2 separate regions of the Homo sapiens genome follow, and region 1 is linked to region 2. Evidence: promoter capture Hi-C in 16 types of primary human blood cells and fetal thymus (Javierre and others, 2016). All regions are on one chromosome and are shown on one strand. The core of a region is centred on a gene start or on the middle of the fragment in contact, and the rest is flanking DNA. Distances in the headings are between cores, read along the strand shown. Region 1 overlaps CYP4F11 (cytochrome P450 family 4 subfamily F member 11). Region 2 holds the start of SYDE1 (synapse defective Rho GTPase activating protein 1).

The links. The method cuts DNA at HindIII sites, captures the fragments that hold promoters and counts their contacts. A CHiCAGO score of 5 or more calls a contact.
Region 1: a contact is called between a fragment that was not itself captured here and the fragment with the promoter of SYDE1 in region 2, in 1 of 17 cell types (neutrophils). The highest score is 5.4, in neutrophils.

The regions. Positions count from the first base shown.
Region 1 is chr19:15,911,933-15,916,284 of GRCh38, forward strand. CYP4F11 (cytochrome P450 family 4 subfamily F member 11) reads right to left here. Exons shown (of 12, transcript NM_021187.4): 9 at 2,830-2,963; 10 at 2,670-2,734; 11 at 2,373-2,455; 12 at 445-1,977. The coding sequence ends at 1,800. It also overlaps the pseudogene LOC729654. Among named protein-coding and RNA genes, the nearest start is that of CYP4F2, 16 kb to the left of the region's middle. The HindIII fragment of the contact is 4,888 bases long and covers 1-4,176 here.
Region 2 is chr19:15,105,896-15,109,722 of GRCh38, forward strand. It overlaps SYDE1 (synapse defective Rho GTPase activating protein 1), which reads left to right and starts at 1,506. Exons shown (of 8, transcript NM_033025.6): 1 at 1,506-1,626; 2 at 3,161-3,502; 3 at 3,809-3,827. The coding sequence starts at 1,539. RefSeq lists an enhancer at 3,192-3,742. The HindIII fragment of the contact is 2,464 bases long and covers 1,048-3,511 here.

The DNA of each region.
Region 1 (4,352 bases), core at 483-2,982, 810 kb after region 2:
CCGGGGGTTCCCGCGGCTGGTGCCCGCTGAGGTGAGGGGAGGGGGCCCATGACGCCGCGGCGGCGCGGGCACTCCCTCTGCCCAACTCTCGGCTGAGCGCGGCTCCCGGCTCAGGCCCCTCTGCCGCCGCAGCCGCGGGCCCAGTAGACACAACCCAGCCGAGGAGCAGCAGCAGCAGCAGCGGCGCCCCGCGCTCCCTGGGGCCCTCCAGAAAGTTTTTTTATGGATATCAGCAATCTAATTCTACAATTTATATGGAGAGACAAAAGACTCAGAATAACCAACACAATATTGAAGGAGTAGAACATAGTTGGAGGACTGACAATATCCAAGTTTTAAGACTTACCGTGAAGCTACAGTAACCAAGATGTTGCGGTATTGGTAAAAGAAAAGAGAAATAGGTCAATGGAACAGAATATTAAAAGCCCAAAAAATAGATCCAAATAAATATAGGCAACTTATATTTGATAAAGGTGCAAAGGCAATACGATGGTCCCAAATAAAAAATATAATGTATTTGGAGATCAGAATCAAGGCCAGAGTAACCGAGTGTAGCAAGGGAAGGAGATCAGCTACAGAAGAGATTAGAGAAGTCAACAGGGTTTAGCGATGCAACATCCCTTAGGCTATGAAAAGAGATCAATGTTTGTAGCAGGATTTTATTTTGAGACACTGACTGAGGTTTCTCTCATTCTCCTACCACCTCACACAGTCAGGTACCTTCACCATCCTCAGGAAAAAAAAAAAAATATATATATATATATATGTGTGTGTGTGTGTGTGTGTGTGTGTGTGTGTGTGTATATGTATATATGTGTGTGTGTGTGTGTGTGTGTGTGTATATATATATATATATAATATATATATATATATACATATCTTATATGCACAGCCCTCTAGGAGAAGAGGTTGTTCAAGGAGCACAGATATTAGAATTTTTGCCTTTGAGTTCCAAAACACAGCCTTTAAAGTCGTGGTAGAAATAACGATCTTGAAAGACAACATTCTTTAACAGCCAGACTTTCTGAGACAGGAAATAATAATGGCTCCATATATTTAGCATTCATTGTGTGCCAGGCACAGCTCTGAGTCCCTTATATTGAGACCTCAGGAAAACCCTGATATAGGTAATGCTGTTGTCTCCATTATATGGTTGAGGGAACCGAGGCACAGAGAGAGGAATTAACTTGCTCAAGTCACGCAGCAGAGCCAGGACTTGAGCCCAAGCAGTCTGGCTCCAGATCCTATGCCTCTGAAAGTAAGGGAAGAGAGTCACAGAGAGAACGCACTGGGAGGGGGAGAAACAGGGGTGGGAAGTTGGTGGAAAAAGGAACTAAAAATTTCTGAGAGCCTGCCAGGGTGGAAGCTGCACCCCTTTCCCTTTGTTCTGAGCTGAGGACTCCAGTCTTGGGAGGACATTCCCAGGACAGATGAAGGGATCTGCCCCTATGGTTGTTTCTCGCTGAATCAGAGTCTCAGTCTTGCTCCTTAAACCCATTCTTAATCCTGTTCCCTCTCCTGCTCAAACACCTCCCAGGGCTCCCTACTGCCCACAGGATAAAGTTTTTACTTGGGCTCTGGGAGAACCCACTAAGGGCCTAGATGCCCTGTGCTCAGCCAGAGAGGCCGTCAGGGTTTTGGGTTCAGAGACGTCACCCTGCCTCCACCCACTCACCTCCCTTTCTTAGATCCCACCAGTCCCCAGGAGCCCCATGCTGGCTGTCAACGAGGCTCAAGCAGAGGTGTCAGCATAGTTTTGTTTCTGGGACTCTACAGAGGTGGGTGGGTGGGTAGGACAGTCACTGTGAGTTCGCACCCAGGGGCTCCACCCGCAGCCAAAGTCCACCCTCTGCGCGCAATATCAGCTCGGGTTTCCTGCGGGGTTCAGTGTGGGTCGGCAGGATGCGGAAGTGCAGCAGGGTGAGCGCCAGGACCACCTTCATCTCAGCCATGGCGAACGCCTGCCCGATGCAGTTTCTGGGGGCAAAAGTGAGGGAATCTGACTGTGCCCATGACCCCCATCCCGGCCCCATCATGCTTAGAACCTGGCCTGGGACCCCAAACGCACCCACATAGGCTTGAGGGGCAGAAAGAGGGGATAAGTGTCCACAGGACTCCCATGTGTGCTTGCATATCCCCCAAACCTGGCCCAGGCTCCTACCCCCAGTTCAGATAAACAGATGAAGGAGGGGACTCTGAGCACACCGCAGACCCCTCTAGGACCTTCCCAAACCCATTCTGTGAACAGTTGCCCATGAACTCCTGAGGAAGGGAGGGAAGGAGAGCTGGAACTGGGACCATCTGTAACTTCCCCCTTTTTGGACCCCTGCACCCATCATGCCATCTCTGCCTCAGACACAGGCCATCCTTACCTGGGCCCTGCCGAGAAGGGAATAAAAGCCAGAGGTGACCTCTCCTTGATGTTCTCTTGGTCGAAACGGAAGGGGTCGTAGACCTGCAGGTGAGACCAAGAAGGCTTGCTGGGTGGGGTCACCCAGTTGGGTGGGGTCTCCCAGTTGTCTCCAAGACCCCCGGCCTTGGAGAGACATTTTGGCAGATGTGTCTCCATTGAGGAGAGGTGATGTTGGATTTTCCTGGTCAAAACCCTGTCACCTCCTCTAGGAACCTTGGAATGGACTCCAAAAAGGGTGGGGTGAGGGAGGCACTACCTCAGGGTCTGGCCACACAGTTGGGTTGTAATGGATCCCGATAATATTGATGAGGCAGACAATGCCTGTGGGAGAGAAGAGGGCAGTCAGGACAAGGCCCCCCTGCCTGAGGGACCCCTCTTGCTACCCAGGAGGCTCCTCCCCCTGAGGCTGTGAGCACCTTTGGGGATGACGCGGCCGTCTGGGAGCACAAAGTCCTGCGTGCAACATCGGGAGATGACCGGGACTGGGGGATGCAACCGCAGGCTCTCCTTAATGCACATGGTCAGGAAGGGCAGCTGGGCCAGGTCGTCCCTAAGAAAACACCCCAGCCCCAATCATTATCAAGGGAACAAAGACACAATTCTCCAGCTTCTCTGTTTCCAAGCGAGACTTTTTCTCCCTATCACAAAATAAATTCCACATGGATGAAATACTGGAGAATTTAAAAAGCAGAAAAAAATTAGAAAAGCAGAAAATTAGAAAAGTACCAGAAAAAAATGGTGCCGATTTTTTAAAGATTATTCTGAGGAAAACACAACACTCTGAAGCCAGCTATTAAAAAGGTTAACATATTGGCCTAAAGGTAAATATCCTTTATGGTAAGAAAGCAAACACAAAATGCAAGTGAATAAGAAACAAAATACCCAGATCCACTGTTTTGCTCTTATTCATCATTGTATTAGCGATAGTAGCAAATGCAATTAGACAAGGGAATAAAAAAGAGAGGAATGCAATTTGAAATGTGGTGGTGGCAGACGGTGATTTTATACTTAGAAAAACAGAACACTTCACTGGAAAACATTTATAAACATTTAAGACCCAGTAAGGGAGCTGAATTGTTTGCTTAATCTTTCTTCTTTTTCTGTGGCTGTTTAAAATTTTAATACATTGTACACTTAAGTGGCTCTAAATTTAAAAACTATAAAACATCCTCTACCCCTATGGCCCAAAGTCACCTGCTTCTTCTCCTCACAGGTTGCCTAAGTTATTATTATTTTTATGTATCTTTCTAGAGATAATTTTTAGTATCTTAAAAATATGAGTACATCATATACTATACACATATTCCATATCTTTTCTCATTTAACAGTATGTCAGTCTTTTCTTGTGTAGCTCCTGGGACTTGTATCAAAATAGGGTTATCCCTACTCTGAAGCTATAAAATAATTTTCCCATGGTTTCTTCTAGAGCTTTTAACAGCCTTTAAAAAAAACTATATACTTGAGTAATCTAAACATTGTCCTATTATAAGACATGGCAACCAGATTGAGTTGATTTTTTTTCCAGGAAAATAAGAAGCATCTGGAAAAAGATAAAAGATAAGATATTAATAATAATGATAATAATATAAAATATCTGAATTAAATTTTAACAAGAGACGTAAAGTCTCTGTATTTCCAATGAATTTATACATTTCCCTCTATCTGAATAAAAGATACATTTCACCATAGCAACAAAATATCTAAGGATTGATTTAACAAAACATGCATATGATATCTAGGCAAATATTTTAAGCTCTATTAAAAGCTTAAATATTATTTGAATACATTAATAACCATTTTACTATGACAAACTATGTGTCAATATTATGATGTTACCTGTTTTCACACATATCAATCACATATTCAAGTCAAACAAGAGAATATATTCAGTGCAAATGATAATCTATCTAATTTTTAGGAACTTGATGAACTTACTCTA
Region 2 (3,827 bases), core at 256-2,755:
GGTATGGTGACACATGCCTATAGTCCCACTTGCTCGGGAGGCTGAGGCAGGAGCATCACTTGAGCCCAAGAGGCTGAGACTGCAGTGAGCTGTGGTGGTACCACTGCACTCCACCTTGGTCTAGTTTTATATATTTTAGGGAGACATGAGACAGCAATCAATATATGTAAGATGCACATGGGTTTGGTCTGGGAAGGCAGGACAACTCAAAAGTAGGGAGAAGGCTTCCAGGTTATAGGTGGATAAGAGAGAAACAATTGCATTCTTTCGAGTTTCTGACTAGCCTTTCTGAATATGCAATTTACAGAGATAGTCACTTATGCCTTAGTCTGGCTTAGTGAAACAAATAGGTAAGGAAGCGATCAGATATGTGTTTGTCTCATGTGAGCAGAGGGACAATTTTGAGTTCTGCCTGTCCTTCATCCATAAGGAATTTCCTTGTAGGCAAATTGTGGGGGAGGTATGTAGCTTTTTTTTTCTTTTCTTTTCTTCTTTTTTTTTAGACGGCATCTTGCTCTGATGACCAGGCTAGAGTGCAGTGGTGCAATTTTGATTCACTGCAACCTCCACCTCCCGTGTTCAAGCAATTTTCCTGCCTCAGCCTCCCAAATAGCTGGGATTACCAGTGCCCACCCACCATGCCTGGCCAATTTTTTTTCTTTTTCATATTTTTAGTAGAGATGGAGTTTCACCATGTTGGCCAGCCTGGTTTCGAACTCCTGACCTCAAGTGATCCGTCGCCTCAGCCTCCCAAAGTGCTAGGATTACAGGAGTGAGCCACCGCGCCCAGCTAGCTTTTTTAACCTTGTAGCTATCTTACTTAGGAATAGAATGGGAGGCAGGTTTGTCCTACACAGTTACCAGTTTGACTTCTTCCTTTTGGCTCAGTGATTTGGAGGTCTCAAGATTTATTTTCCTTTCACAATCACGACATGGTTGTTTTACATCATTACGTTTGGGGATGGTTTGTCAAACAGCAGTAGTAATTGGAATTTGGAGGTGAGAGAATTGAGTGGGGAAAGAGTGGCATGGGGAGACCAAGGAAGAAGCTTGGGGTGGGGTGGGTAGTGGGGACGGTCATTGAAACGAATGACACTACGGCTTGCACCAGGTTGAAGCAGTACCTGGCAAGGAGAGAGAGGATACGTGGAGGCTGCGATTTGGAGACAGACCCAAGAGAACTTCCTGGATGCCATCACCCAGAGTCCCATCCAGGGAGGGTGGGTGAGGTGGAAGACAAGGGATCGGGCCTGCGCCACGATCGTCACGTCCCATCGAAGCTGGAGCGGATCCGGGCACCCGGAGCCCCCATTCCAACCCCTCCCGGCCCCAGGCAACTACATCTCCCAGCATCGCCCGCTCGGGCCGCGGGAAAGGGGAAAAAAAAAAAAAGTTTGGGCCAAGCATTCCCGGAATGTGCTTCCTGCTGGCGCGGGGCGGGGGGCGGGCGGGGAGGCCCGGGCGGGGCGGGGAGGGCGCGGGGCGGCGCGGCCGGAGCCCGGGGCGCGCACTCGGCTCGGCCCGGCCCGGGCCGCAGCATGGCCGAGCCGCTACTCAGGAAAACCTTCTCCCGCCTGCGGGGCCGGGAGAAACTTCCCCGGAAAAAGTCGGACGCCAAGGAGCGCGGTAAGCGGAGATCGGTGGGGAACAGGGGGCGCCGAGCCCCACCCGGCCTGGGAGCGGGGTCCCAGGGCCCCGAGGACAGACGGTGGGGGGGATCAGGGGGAGCCCCCCGCACCCCGCTGCAGACTGGGGTGCCTCCAGCCAGGGGAGGGTAGGGGTCCTGGAAGGAAGGGGCTGGGAGGGAGGGGGGCGCGGACCGTTATGTGCTGCTGGCCGGGGATGCCAGCGCTGCGGGCTCCTTGGGAGGCCCGGGAGGGGGCCTCGCCCACGACAGGAAATGGGGCCGCGACTGAGGGCCTGGAGGGTGGAGGGGAGGAGGGGCTGGGAGGCCGGGACACTGGGGCCCAGTCGGGCTGGGCAAGGGGCATCGGGAGCCCTGGAGGCGCAGGATGGGAGATGGGAGGCGTACTCCTGCAAAGGAAAGAGAGGGGCGGCCCGTCAATCAGAGTAGCTGCCCCCTCCGCCTCCCACCTACTAACAGTGACGGCAACTGCGCCTGCCTTAGCCCCAGGAAACTGTCCCTTTTATACAGATGGGGAAACTGAGGCACGGAGCAATTGGGTCATGTGCCCAGGGCCATCGACTTAAACAGCTCTTTGGACTATGCTACAAACAGAGACCCTAGAGGGTGGACATCAGAGGTGGCCAGAGGAGGAGTTCAGCAGGGTAGCAAGTAAAAACCTTAGAGAAACAGCTGCGTGGGATAGGGGGACCCAGGAAGGAAGGAGTTAAAGGAGGAAGGCCAGACCATTCCATGGACGTACCCCTTCCCCCCAGGCCTTCCCAAAGATTCCCAATGTTCCCAGGGAAGGGAGAAGGGACAGAGATGCCCAAACACAAACACACACAGGAAACAGCCCAGGACATGAGACAGGAGAGGAGGGAGGGAAGGGGAAGTCCCAAAGCATTGAGCGTGGGGGGTCTGGCCTGGGCTGAGGGACAAGGGCCCATCCCAGGATGGCGACAGAGTTTGGAAGACAGGAGGGAGGGTAAAAGGGGCAGGGGACTGGGAGTGACTGTGCTGCAGGGAATAGAAAACCCAGCTCCTCACTCCTGAGCACGTAGTGCCTGCTGTGGGCTGTATACTTTTCCAAAAGGCTCCTGGAAGCCTCCCTGGACATGGAAATCACATCCCCCCATTTCACAGGAGGATACTGAGCCTCAGAGAGGGAAGCGACTTGCCCAAGGCCACGCAGGTGCAAAGCTCCATGCCACGGTTATTGAGAGGGTAGAGGAAGTGGAGACTGGAACGCAGTACCTACGGGCCCCAGGAAGCCTGACTTAGAACCCTGAGGCTGCAGGGATGGAGTCCCCTTTTGGGATGCCAGGGACTGAGTAGGGGGTGCTCTAAGCTGATAACTGAGATCGCTAGCCTGTGGCTGCCTATTCCAAACAAAACAGCAGGATCCAAGGAACCATGACTTATCAGGGGCCGGCCAGGGCCGTACACAGCATCCCACCCACTGATCAATTGCACAGGGCTGCTCTGCAGGCAGTGAGGGGCTGGGTGGGTCTCACTCCCCTTGCTCTCTGCCAGGCCACCCAGCCCAGCGCCCAGAGCCCAGCCCTCCAGAGCCAGAGCCCCAGGCTCCCGAAGGGTCCCAGGCCGGAGCAGAGGGGCCCTCCAGCCCCGAGGCATCAAGGAGCCCTGCACGGGGAGCCTACCTGCAAAGCCTGGAGCCCAGTAGCCGCCGATGGGTGCTGGGTGGGGCCAAGCCAGCTGAGGACACCTCTTTAGGGCCTGGGGTACCTGGCACTGGGGAGCCCGCCGGCGAGATCTGGTACAACCCCATCCCTGAGGAAGACCCCAGACCTCCAGCACCTGAGCCCCCGGGGCCACAGCCTGGCTCAGCTGAGTCAGAGGGCCTGGCCCCCCAAGGTAAGAACAAGCTTCCCATCCCCTTCCCCAAGGTGAGCACCAGCTCCACATCCCTTCCCTTCAGGGTAGCACCAGCCTCACACTCCCTCCTCCCAGAGGAGCACCAACCTCACACTCCTTCCCTTCAGGGGAGCACCAGCCTCACATCCCCACCCCGTCAGATGCTCCCAGAGGAGCATCAGCCTCACACCCTCCTCCCCGCCAGGGGAACACCAGCCTCACACTCCTTCCCTTCAGGGGAGCACCAGCCTCACCCCCCTCCCCTAAGCCCAGGTTCCTGGACCCTGAAGTCTGCTCTCCACACAGGTGCAGCCCCCGCCAGCCC